4 separate regions of the Homo sapiens genome follow, and regions 1, 2 and 4 are each linked to region 3. Evidence: promoter capture Hi-C in 16 types of primary human blood cells and fetal thymus (Javierre and others, 2016). All regions are on one chromosome and are shown on one strand. Each heading gives the region's core, a stretch centred on a gene start or on the middle of the fragment in contact. The rest is flanking DNA. Distances are from core to core; before and after follow the strand shown. Region 1 has its middle 8.4 kb from the start of REM2. Region 2 holds the start of RBM23 (RNA binding motif protein 23). Region 3 holds the start of CDH24 (cadherin 24). Region 4 has its middle 4.0 kb from the start of SLC7A8.

Region 1 (2,816 bases), core at 158-2,657, 170 kb before region 3:
AGAGGAGGCTGGGAGAGGTGTGTATGGATTGGAGCTGCAGAGGCAAGTACTGAGGAGCTGAGTTTAGGGACCAGTTAATAGTGATACATACAGAGGATAATGAAAGGCCATCCTGAGGGGGGTGGCAGTGGGAAAGGAAGGAGGCATGGGTTTGAGCATCAGAATCAATGGGACTTGGCAACTTAGTGGATGAGTATAAAGAGAGGAAAAAGTTGTAGGTGGTGAGAGGATGGTGCAGAACTTGGAGTAAAGGGGCAGAGGAGGTAGTGAGAGTAAGGAGCTCCATTTTGGAGACACTGAATTTGAGATGCTAGAAGAACATCTATATAGAGTTTCAGCAGCTCTCTAGAGTTGAATCTGAATCTGAAATTCAGAACAAGTTGGGACAAGAGAAACAGATTTGAGAATAATTACCATAAAGATAGTAGTAGAAGAGCAAGGAGAAAAGGTGACCTGTGCAGTCACATAGGGCCCTAAGCTTAGTTTAATGTTCTGCTGTTATGTTCTTAAAATTCTTCGAACAAGGAGCCCTGTATTTTCATTTTGCAAGGGGATCCACAATTATACTAAGGGAGAAGGTGCAGTACAGGCTGGGATCCTTACCCCAGACTACTGATGGAGTCTGCGTCTTGTGAAATGGTACATACAATCTGATGTATTTGTGTAGTCATACCTGTGTCTGAGAATAGGGTTCATGAATTTCATCAGATTCACAAAAGGGTTTGTTACAGGCCAGGCACAGGATGGCTCATGCCTGTAATCCCAGCACTTTGAGAGGCCGAGGCGGGTAGATCACCTGAGGTCAGGAGTTCGAGACCAGCCTGGCCAACATGACGAAACCCCATCTCTACTAAAAATACAAAAATTAGCTGGGCATGGTGGCACATGCCTGTAATCCCAGCTACTTGGGAGGCTGAGGCAGGAGAATTGTTTGAACCCAGGAGGTGGAGGTTGCAGTGAGCCGAGATCGTGCCACTGTACTCCAGCCTGGGCAACAGAGTGAGATTCTGTCAAAAAAAAAAAAAAAAAAAAAAAAGATGGTACTGGCTGCTTCTGGAAAGGGGAACTGGGTGAGTAGAAGACCAGGATGGGAAGCTGACTTTTCATTGTATGCCCTTTTTCTTTTCTTTTCTTTTCTTTTTTGAGACGGAGTTTCACTCTTGTTGCCCAGGCTGGAGTGCAATGGCACGATCTCACTGTAACCTCCGCCTCCTGGGTTCAAGCGATTCTCCTGCCTCAGCCTCCCGAGTAGCTGGGATTACAGGCATGTGCCACCACACCCGGCCACTTTTGTATTTTTGGTAGAGATGGGGTTTCTCCATGTTGGTCAGGCTGGTCTCAAACTCCCAACCTCAGGTGATCCGCCTGCCTCAGCCTCCCAAAGTGCTGAGATTACAGGCCTGAGCCACCGCGTCCAGCCTGTATGCCCTTTTTCTACCTTTGGAAATTTTTTTTTTTTTTTTTGAGACAGAGTCTTGCTCTGTTGCCCAGGCTGGAGTGCAGTGTGGCACAATCTCAGCTCACTGCAAACTCCACCTCCTGGGTTCAAGCGATTCTCCTGCCTCAGTCTCCCGAGTAGCTGGGATTACAGGTGCCCACCACCACGCCCAGCTAATTTTTGTATTTTTAGTAGAGACGGGGGTTTCACCATCTTGGCCAGGCTAGTCTTGAACTCCTGACCTCATGATCCACCCACCTCAGCCTCCCAAAGTGCTGGGATTACAGGCGTGAGCCACCGCGCCTGGCCTACCTTTGGAACTTTTAACTGTGTCATTTAGTACCACTTCAAAAATGAAACGAAATAGGCCGGGCACAGTGGTTCACGCCTGTAATCCCAGCACTTTGGGAGGCCAAGGCCGGTGGATCATGAGGTCAGGAGTTCAAGACCAGCCTGGCCAAGATAGCGAAACCCCATCTCTACTAAAAACTACAAAAATTAATCAGGCGCAGGGGTGGGCACCTGTAATCCCAGCTATTCGGGAGGCTGAATCGCTTGAACCTGGGTGGCAGAGGTTGCAGTGAGCTGAGATCATGCCACTGCACTCCAGCCTGGCGACAGAGAGAGACTCCGTCTCAAAAAAAAAAAAAGAAAGAAACAAAATAATTTAAAACAAAGCCTTAGGGGTCCAGAGAAAGAAGAGGGAACAAGGAGATCCTGGGGATATATAGATGGAGAAGGTGGAGAAGCAGCTGCCAAAGAGGTAGTGGGAGAACTAGGATTGAGCCTGTTGTGACTGCTGCCAGAGGAGGGGTTTCTAGGAGAGTATCACCAATGGTCAGATGTGGCCAGAGAGGAGGATGAGGAACAAGAAAGGCCCAGTGCCTTTTACGTGGCAGAAGCTTAAAACATGTCTTTCGTGTATGGAAGACCATGATGGCAAGACCTCCCCCACGAGGGGAGCCACACACCATGAGCCTCCCTCCCCCAACTCAGCCAGTCCCATCAGCCCGACCCATCTGTGTGTTCCCTCCAGACGCCTACAGGGAATAGCTCAGAACAGACGGAAGCTGAAGCCAGGCTCCCGCCAGACTTGGGAGAGGTGAGGCCTTCTCTGAGAGCCAGGCCATTCTCTCTTTCTCTCTCAAGGCAAAGTAGAGCCATTGATCTTGGCTGGGGTGAGAGGTCAGCAGAGGGCACTGGGACCTGAGCTGCCATGCCAGGTAAGGTCCTTTCTGTCCTCATGCATCTCTTAACCACTGCAATTTTGTCTTGGAGTCCGTGTTCCCTTACCAGCCCCTGCCCAGCCCCTGCTACTCCCACTCCCCTTTGCCCACAAGACCGCCTCATTGGCCCAGAGCATAGACTTTGTGTGCTC
Region 2 (2,963 bases), core at 437-2,936, 140 kb before region 3:
AAACTTGCAATCTCACTGGGTTTAGTGTCTTTCTAGATGTGCTAAAAGCAATAAGGTAGCAAACACTATGCATTTTCAGGCTGGTAGTTTTTTCTTTTTTCTTCTTTTTTGTTTTTTTTTTGTATTTTTAGTAGAGACGGGGTTTCGCCGTGTTAGCCAGGATGGTCGCGATCTCCTGACCTCGTGATCCGCCCGCCTCGGCCACCCAAAGTGCTGGGATTACAGGCGTGAGCCACTGCACCCGGCCCAGGTTGGTAGTTTTCAAACGCTCTCTTCATGTCCCAACTTATGGGTCAAGGTCCACTCAATCTCATCCACATAGAGTATGTTTTCTTCCATCCTGCTCCAAAAACAGTATTAGAGACCCACAATCACGTCAGTTCCTAGACCTCGTCATAGCACAAGCCAACAGATAGACCCCACTGCTAAAGGAGCAGAGAGAACCACTGTCAGACCAATTCGGGAAGAATTCACGAAAAGCTGGAGCCCCAGGGGTGATGGTAGCGCCATCCCCAGGGTCTGATCACTTAGCTGGGCACAAACACCTACAAACTGAAGGCAGCTTAACAAAAGAGGAACAATGAGAACGATAAAAGCTACTTGAAGGACCACCCTCCCCATGTTGTGTAGCTTTAAAAAATGGTCCTATAGGCCGGGCGCGGTGGCTCACGCCTGTAATCCCAGCACTTTGGGAGGCCGAGGCGGGTGGATCACCTGAGGTCAGGAGTTCGAGGTCAGCCTGGCTAACATGGCAAAACCCCATCTCTATTAAAAATACAAAAATTAGCCGGGCGTTGTGGCAGGCGCCTGTAATCCCAGCTACTCGGGAGGCTGAGGCAGGGGAATCGCTAGAACCCGGGAGACAGGATGCAGTGAGCCGAGATCGCGCCACTCCACTCCAGCCTGGGTGACAAAGCGACACTCCGCCTTAAAAAAATAAAAAAAAAGAGGTCCTATAGGCAACCAACTGGCACAATCTCTGCGGGAGCCAGTGTCCCAGGGCTCAATCTTCATATGTGGCATCATAATACGCCTACTGGAATGAGTGCTTGAAAAAGTTAAATGGGAAAAGCCCATAAAGGTCAACATAGTGAACATGAATCTTCGACAGACTAGAGATTGAGGAAGAAAGCTCAATTCCCTTCTCTCTCTCTGAATGGTGGTGCGAGTGGCTGAAACTGATGATGCGTGTCCTCTCAGGCCGCGGAGGGTCGATGCTCCCTCTCCAGTGTGGGCGACCCTAAGTGTCACGGCTGCAGAGACCCGGAAAGAAAAATCACAGGATTCTAGAAACCGCATCTTTATCGGTGCAAGATACAGCCACGAGGGTGCCCAACTCTAAAATCGTGGCAGTGGGCTACATTTAAGTAGCTAACACTTCCAGGTCAAAACAAACAAAGGTTTTTTTAATGTTAAAAGTTCGCCTGAATCTCTTCGTGACGCCATTTTCTGCCCGTGACGTCAGGGGGGAGGCGCCGTGCAGCAACGTCACGCATTGGTGACGTCTGGTGGGGACCGGGTTTTGGGGTTTCTCACCAGTTCCGGGTCCCCGCAGGGGGGTCCCGGTTCTCTCCGTTCCTTTGAGTATGTTGTGGGGAGTGGAGCTCGGATAGTTCCTAGAGTCTAGGCAAGAAAAGCAGCACTGCAGGTACAGAGCCTCCTCTTCCCGCAAAATGGCGGCAGCTCTGCCGTCTTCCAGAACCTTCCCCAATCTGCGCATGCGCCAAGACTCCCCGGCTTTGGAAATAACCTCACTGGTTTCGCGGCAACCGTCCAAAGTACAGGTTCTCATTGGCTAAAGTCCTAAGTATGGGTGGAGCAAACTCAAATGCGTCTTAGCAACCACCGAGTTCCCATTGATTGGCTAACCTCAGAGACTCCAGAAAATGGAAGCGTCCTTTGGTAGCCGCCCATCACTCTCTCATTGGTTAAATGACTTGCGGAGGGCGGGGAAAACGGGACTGAAAACGGGAGTGAAGAAGCCACCAACCCCACTCCTGGTGCTCGCGTAGACTAGACCAGTGCGATGGGCGGAGCCAACGAGGAGGCACAATTTACATCCTTGGCCGTCCCTACTCGGATTTGCTGAAGGAGTCACGTCGGTCGTTAAGGTTAAGCTTTGTAGAGAACAGCGGCGTTTGTTTAACGTCCGGGGATGCTGAACTCGAAATCCCCGTTCTGAGCCGGCTACCTAAACAACCTTCCCGACCACCTCTCCTGACCTCGGTGCTTGGGACCAGGGAAAAGCAGATCTTGCCACAGACTTGTCTTGGCCCACACTCTGCCCTATCGTCATGGCCTGCTCCCACAGGTCATAACTTCCGTTCAAATCAGTACCCCCACATTTCCCACTGCAAGGGTAAATTTGAAAGTTTCTCAGGTGACTCCTTGGATGTAGCAGTACTGAGTCCTCTAACCGGAAAGAAGGAACTGATGTCCACCCTCACTTTCCAGGGGCCTCCAGGAGCCCCTAGACACTTCTGTGGTCTACTGTAGCTACCAAAAATGTAGCTGGTTATAACATGGGGAGAGCCAGAGTCGGAGGACCTGACTTCCAATTCTGACTTGGATACTAATATCACATCATTGTACCCATTTCAAACTCCCCCTCTGTAAAATGGAAAATTGGACTAGATGATCTCTTAGGACTTCAAACTGTAACCCTGTGGTTTTATTCAAAAAAAACAGGTAGCTTCTTGCTGGAGATTCCTGGATGGATTCCAGTCTTCCCAAGAGGTAACAAAGGAGAGGTAACCAGTTGCCCGTGCAGTAGCTCAAGAATACAGAAGAGAAACTGGCTTCACTCACTATTCCATCTTTTTCCAAGGTGGCAAACTCTATGCCTCCTCCCCAGAGAAAAGCCTAACTGTAGGTTCTAATGGACAAGAGCTCACTGTAGCTGGTCAGAAAGGCCTATATCCAGGACTACAATAGTCATTGCTCAGCTTCCTAAGTAGGGAATA
Region 3 (3,112 bases), core at 523-3,022:
CAGGGCTCTGTTCACTGGCCCTGGGTGCTGAGGCTGGGCCAGGCCACGTGGCCCATGAGCTGGCTGGGGTGGAGGGGCAGATGCGTTGAGGCTACCCCATGGATCCACACCTGCAGGACAAGCAGCTGCTCAGGCTCAAGGAAACCCCTAGCCCTCCTCCCCCGCAAAATTAGATGCTGAAGACCAGACCTCCAAGGAACCAGACACTCCACTGCCCAGAACTCAGACTAAGACAGAGAGCAGAGAGGCTGATCCTTCCTCCACCCAGGCTCTGCATGTATTCACCTCCAGCCCTCCAAGCTGATAAATCTCTGGTCAGTCAACTCTGAGTAGAGAACTGGGGAGGAACACAGGAGAGGGGATGCTGGGAGGGCTTGGAATCCCAAATCTGGTCTCTGTCCTCCCAGGTTGGGCACGTAGCCAGGTATTGGAGGAGGCGGGGCTACCAGAGAAAGGGCTTAAAATTACGGAGTTGGGATTCATGGAGGTGTGGCCTTAAGGTGTCTAGGGTCAGCATGAGATGACAAGGAGTGCAGCCTCAGGCAGGGCTGAGAGTCTGTGAAAGTCCCTCCCCACAAGGGGGAGCCCCACTCTCCAGGCCCTGTCTCCAGCCCACGCTGCCAGTGCAGTCCTTGAAGGGGGACTGGGCTCGTGAGACAGGAGTTGGGAGCCAGAGCTGAAGGAAGAGGATACAGGGTGGGGGACAGGGGGAGGTGACCGGGGAGAGAGGTCCACCCAGAGGCTAGAGACAGATAATGACTGACGGCTAGACTGACTCAGGGACTGTCCGGCAGAGAAATGACTGGATGAGAGACAGAAACAGAACAGTGGCAAGAGACAGAATGAGAGAGACCAGGGCAGCAGCCTGGGTGTCTGAAGGCAGAGAGGAGTCCTAGGGGCCAGGCTTGGAAACGGGTCACCGGGGGCAGTTCCGGGCAGGCAGGGGCAGACCTCAGCTTCGGGGGTGTCAAGCCAGGCCTCGGGAACTTAATTCTGGGAGAAGGAGCAGACAGGAGGGGTGGAGGCAGGGAGGGGCCACGGGAAGGGAGCTAGAGAGGAGACCCTTCCCACTGCTCTCCTTTCTCCTAGGGGCGGGGGGGAGGACCCCTCAGGTAGCTGTGGCTTCTGCCCCTCCTCCCTCAGAGCAGACACACACCTGACAGTCCCTTTGCTCCCGAGGGAAGGGGGAAACCGGAGGAAGGCTGGGGACCAGAGAGAAGGCGGGATGAGGAGGCGAGAAGGAAGGGGATAGAGGAGTGGGAAACAGGATAGCAGGAAGGGGAGAGGAGAGGGAGGGAAAGGAGAGCAAGAAAGAGAAAAGAGAAAGGCAGGAAAGGGGAGAAAGGTAGAGAAAGAAAAAGGCAAAGAGGGAGAGGAGATGGAAAAAGGACAAGAGGGAGAGGGAAGGGTTGGGGAGACAGAGGGAAGGGATAAGGAAGGCAAACAGGCAGAGAAGGAAGGGTGAAGAGAAATCGAGAGAAGAAAGAGGGAGAGAGGTGCGAGGGGAGAAGGGAAAGAGGCAGAGCGCGGGAGAAGGGAGCCGGCAGCGGGCTCCCAGCCACGGAGCGCACCCCTCCGAAGACCCCCGCAGGCTGCGGGCCCCCTCCTACCCCTCCGCGGATTCCCGACCCCTGCTCCGGGGCAGGCGCCCTTACCTGGCACTGCCGAGGGGCCCAGGCCGGCGGGAAGCGCCCCCGCCCGCCCCCGTCGCCGGGTCCCGGGGGCACAGCCCCGAGCCGATTGGAGCGGGCGCCGCGGCTCCGCTGCAGGTCTGAGCGGCCCCGGCGAGAACAAGGGAGCGAGACGGAGGGGGCGGGGGAAGAAGACTCCGCCTGCGGAGGAGCGAGGCGGCTCCGCGCCGCGCGGGAGAGGAGAGCCCAGCCTCCGACCCTCCCCGGCCAGCCGGGCCCGCGCGGCGGGGGCGGGGGCGGAGGCGGCGCCGCGCGTCCGCCCCCTCGGCGCTCCTGGGCTGCGGGGCGCATACAGATGCGGCGCCCCTCCCGGACCGGGCCCGCAGCGCCCGGCAGGGCACTCGGGCGGGAGGACGTCCAGGCCACGGCGCCAGGCCATTTCCGAAGAGCTGGCGGGGCGGGTGCACCCGGGAGCGCGAAGCTGCCAGTCCCCGCCCGCAGCGGAAAACGGGCGAGCGCGCGGTGAGGTGGGGAATTCGGAGCCCACTGCGGAGAGACCCGGCTCCGGGCTCCCGGTTCCCGGCTGGCTTTTGGGACTGGTGTGGATGGAATCCCAGCTGCAAGGCGGCGGCGTTTTGAGAGCCCATGCAAAGCACGGTAGCAGGTCAGCTGGGGGACACTTAAGGACGGCAGAAGGGTCCAGAGAGTCCGAGGCCCGGGCCCAGGGAGCGGGTCGGGAACAGAGGCACGACATCGGCGGGAGGTCGGAGGCGGGCAGTGGAACCCTTCTTGGGAAGCTCGGTTACAGGGGCCAACAGAGCGAGGAGCTGCCGCCCCCTGGTGGTAGTTGTGGGAGGCACCAAGGTGGCAGGCAGGTGACCAAACCCCTAATTTAACCGTGCACAGGACCAGGAACCAGAAGAGGACCCACCCTCCTAGCCCTGCTGGGGTGCCGCCACGGACACAGGTTGCTCCATGCCTTCCCGAATGAGGAAGGTCCACAGCTTTGGGTTGGTCAGGGCCAAGGCAGGGGATAAAAGACGTGGGAAGTTCAATAAGCAGGAAGCAGTCAGCCTAAAGGAACACATGGAATGAGAGCAACTCCTACTCCAGATATCCTCAGATGTCCACGCTCAGATATCCACAGTGGCTTCTTAACCTGCCCAAAGAAAGCCACTCACACAGTTTAAAACTAAGTCAGATTTTTATTTTTTTTTCCATAGACCACATCATTTAATAATAAAAAAAATAAAAATAAAAATTGAACAAAAGGAAAAGGTGGATATAAAGTGGAACCTGTGGGAAAGAGGCAAGGGCTGCAGGACAGAAGAGACTGGGAACTGCAGGGGCCCTGGGACTCAGGAGGAGATGCTGATTCAGCTCATAGGTGACCCAGTCCTGGCCCCGGCTGTTCCCAAGAGAAGGCTGTAAGTACCCAGGGAGGTGGTAAGCAGGATGGAGGAAAAATCAGAGGACTGGGG
Region 4 (3,041 bases), core at 347-2,846, 130 kb after region 3:
TATTAAGTGCCTCTCTGTAGGTTGGAATCTTTTTGTGACATAAACTCTTAAGTGTGTCAAAATTCCAGGTGACTAACATTGAACACAAGAGAGAAAGAAAAGCCTTGGTGTAATATGTTGACAAAAATCTGTAAAAAATTACAAACTAATGTTTATTAAATTTTGAGCATTTTTTTTTTTTTTGAGAAGGAGTCTCGCTCTGCTGCTCTGGCCGGACTGCAGTGGTGCGATCTCGGCTCTCGGCTCACTGCAACCTCTGGCTCCTAGGTTCAAGTGATTCTCCTGCCTCAGCCTCCTAAGTAGCTGGGATTACAGGCACCTGCCACCATGCCTGGCTAATTTTTGTGTTTTTAGTAGAGACGGGGTTTCACCCTGTTGGTTAGGCTCGTCTTGAACTCCTAACCTTGTGATCCACCCGCCTCGGCCTCCCAAAGTGCTGGGATTACTCTATTCTGCATTTGCCTTTATATTTTTATTCTATTCTCTACGTTTAAATAGTGCTTTATAGCCCACAAATGGTTTTCTGAACAATATCTCAATTTTTTTCCTCCTCATGTAGTATCTTGGGCAGACGAGGCAGTTATCTTAAAGATTTTAAAAATTAGAAACCTGAGGCTTAAAGAAATATTTTACCTGAGGTAAAAAACAAGACAGTCTATTTGAGGGCAAATGGGAGATTGATAGTTTACACTGAGCACTTTTTCAGGATGCTATAGCTACTGGTCAAAGCCTCAATTTCTTTCACCTGAGGGAAACTCTGTGTTTTTGCTTTGGTGTCTTAACTGTGCCTTTTAGAGACTCACCTTGATCCTAACACTTATCTGCTCAGTGAGACCCACAGGACTTCACCTGGGCCCCCCCAACATTTGTCACCCCCTTCGCACAGTCCTCAGTGTGGCCATATCCCAAGTACGTAGTACAATTCTGTTTCCAATATCGGAGCCACTGTTTCAGCTGTTTTGCGTGCTTCAGATCAGAAGAAATTGATCCCTTTAACTAGGGAAAATTATGGATGAAAGGCCGTTTTCTTACAAATATGGATTTAGAAAGAGAAAGGCTGTGCGTAGCTGACACCTACTGGACAGAAAAGGTTATGGCTTGGGACATGCTGCTTGTGATAGTTAAAACACAAACACACACAACCCCCACGCAGTCATGTTCTAATATTCCCCTACTCCCCCCTTTTTTAGAGACAAGGTCTCACTCTGTCACCCAGGCTGGAGTGTAGTGGCACAATCACAGCTCACAGCAGCCTCAAACTCCTGGGCTCAAGTGATCCTCCCGCCTCAGCCTCCCGAGTAGCTGGGACTACAGATGTGCGCCACCACACCCGGGTTAATATTCCCTTTCAGAGACAAGTTAGACGTGTCTGCTAATGCAAAGGAATAGAGCACAAAGCTCATGCACTCCATTCCTGATTTTTTTTTCTAGATCCAATAGACAGCACTTTATTCTTGCTTTTTGTAACAGAGCTGGGAAGTCTGAGGTTACCAACAAAGGACCCAAATCTCTCCCTGGAGTCAACTCACAGTCCATGCGCTCACTCCATCCTTCTTCTCGTAACTATGTGCCCCATATCTATGTGCTTTAGTTTAAAGCAGAAGGAAACCCTGCTTTAAATTAAAGCCAACTTTCTTCCCAGAGTCCCAGGGATCACTGCCTATGGTCGATTAGATGGGGCCTTCCTGAGCCAGTAGTTTTAGATGCCTTTACTTCATTAGAAAATGAAAAGCAGATGAAAATTAATGAGAAAAGAAGAAAAAATTAAAAAAAGAAAAGGCCAAAATAGGTCAGAAAGAAAGGAAGATGAAATGAGGAGACTCGGTCAGTGATTAAGCCCTTTTTAGTGTATGCTCTGTTTGCCTTTTGGGCATATTCATAAGTTCAAAGGAAGTTGTGTCTTCTAGGGTTTATGCAGTCCTGAGAATTTGGATGCAGCTGACCCTGCTTTGTTATGATGGTTAATTAATTCAGCTCTTCTGGAGATAATGATGAATCCTTGCTCTGACACCAGAGACAAAAATTCCAACAGATTACTCCTCTGTCTGCTGCACTTGGTGGGATTCCATGGAGCCAGCCCAGCACTAGTGGGAAAGAAATAAAGAGGCACTGCCTGTGGCAGGCCAGATCTCCGCATTTTCTTGATTCTTTTGCTGGGTCCAATCTGTCATGGGGCCTTAACAGTCTTCTTTCTCAGGATTTAAGTGACTCCAGCTTTGAATACTTAAATATGGAAACTTCCCCTTCTTAATTGGTTTTCATTATGTTTGACAAAGATTAGGGTTTTTTTTTTTTTTTTTAGAGATAGGGTCTCACTCTCACTCTGTCACCCAGGTTGGAGTGCAGTGGTGTGATCACAGCTCACTGCAACCTTGAACTTCTGGGTTCAAGTGATCCTCCTGCCTCAGCCTCTCAAGTAGTTGGGACTACAGGTGCACACCACTATGCCTGGCAAATTTTTAAAAAATTTTTAGTAAAGATGAGGTCTTACTGCATTACCCAGGCTGATCTCAAAGTCCTAGCCTGAAGAGTTCCTCCAGCCTCAGCTTCCCAAAGTGCTGGGAGCCACTGTGTGAACCACTGTGCTGGGCCTCAGGTTTTTAAAGATGTAGATGACAAGTTCCCTGAGGGCAAAGACCTGCTTTGCTCACTGCTGTAACCCCAGTACCTAAAATGGTGCCTGGCACTCAATAAATATGATTGATTGAATGAATTAATGTATAAATAAATGTTGATGTACATTAATGCATAATAAATAAAATAATTACCAAATGACTCCTTGATATACCAACTAATTGTAGCAAGATGTAGCTGTTGGTGCCTGTACAGGGGCTGGAACACAGAGAAGAAAAAGACAATCAAGGTTTTGACTTTGAAGATTATTTTATACAGAGCACAGATCTCAAGCAGGCCCTTAACACTGCCAGCAATCCTACCACAATCTTGTAGTTAACTGACCTTTCCAATTACCTGCTCCTCTCTTCAAACCAATACCACACCCCAAATCTTCGCTTCTAGTTGACATCTTTGACTATTGTTTC

Evidence for each region. The method cuts DNA at HindIII sites, captures the fragments that hold promoters and counts their contacts. A CHiCAGO score of 5 or more calls a contact.
Region 1: a fragment that was not itself captured here is called in contact with the fragment with the promoter of CDH24 in region 3 in 1 of 17 cell types (neutrophils); the score reaches 5.7 in neutrophils.
Region 2: a contact is called between the fragment with the promoter of RBM23 here and the fragment with the promoter of CDH24 in region 3, in 14 of 17 cell types (neutrophils, erythroblasts, total CD8 T cells and 11 more). The highest score is 11.1, in neutrophils.
Region 4: a fragment that was not itself captured here is called in contact with the fragment with the promoter of CDH24 in region 3 in 1 of 17 cell types (M0 macrophages); the score reaches 5.2 in M0 macrophages.

The regions. Positions count from the first base shown.
Region 1 is chr14:22,890,192-22,893,007 of GRCh38, forward strand. No RefSeq gene overlaps it. Among named protein-coding and RNA genes, the nearest start is that of REM2, 8.4 kb to the left of the region's middle. The HindIII fragment of the contact is 1,862 bases long and covers 477-2,338 here.
Region 2 is chr14:22,917,463-22,920,425 of GRCh38, forward strand. RBM23 (RNA binding motif protein 23) reads right to left here and starts at 1,687. Exons shown (of 14, transcript NM_001077351.2): 1 at 1,537-1,687. It overlaps PRMT5-AS1 (PRMT5 antisense RNA 1), which reads left to right and starts at 1,994. Exons shown (of 2, transcript NR_120600.1): 1 at 1,994-2,963. RefSeq lists enhancers at 1-503, 992-1,161, 1,232-1,341, 1,432-1,501 and a silencer at 1,762-2,061. The HindIII fragment of the contact is 7,114 bases long and covers 1-2,115 here.
Region 3 is chr14:23,055,748-23,058,859 of GRCh38, forward strand. CDH24 (cadherin 24) reads right to left here and starts at 1,773. Exons shown (of 13, transcript NM_144985.4): 1 at 1,656-1,773; 2 at 1-110. It overlaps ACIN1 (apoptotic chromatin condensation inducer 1), which reads right to left. Exons shown (of 19, transcript NM_001386863.1): 19 at 2,817-3,112. LOC105370705 (collagen alpha-2(I) chain-like) reads left to right here and starts at 1,913. Exons shown (of 2, transcript NR_169511.1): 1 at 1,913-2,295; 2 at 2,538-2,902. RefSeq lists silencers at 1,653-1,772, 1,853-2,002. The HindIII fragment of the contact is 16,339 bases long and covers 1-3,112 here.
Region 4 is chr14:23,186,178-23,189,218 of GRCh38, forward strand. It overlaps a transcript of RNF212B not described here. Among named protein-coding and RNA genes, the nearest start is that of SLC7A8, 4.0 kb to the left of the region's middle. The HindIII fragment of the contact is 4,312 bases long and covers 1-3,041 here.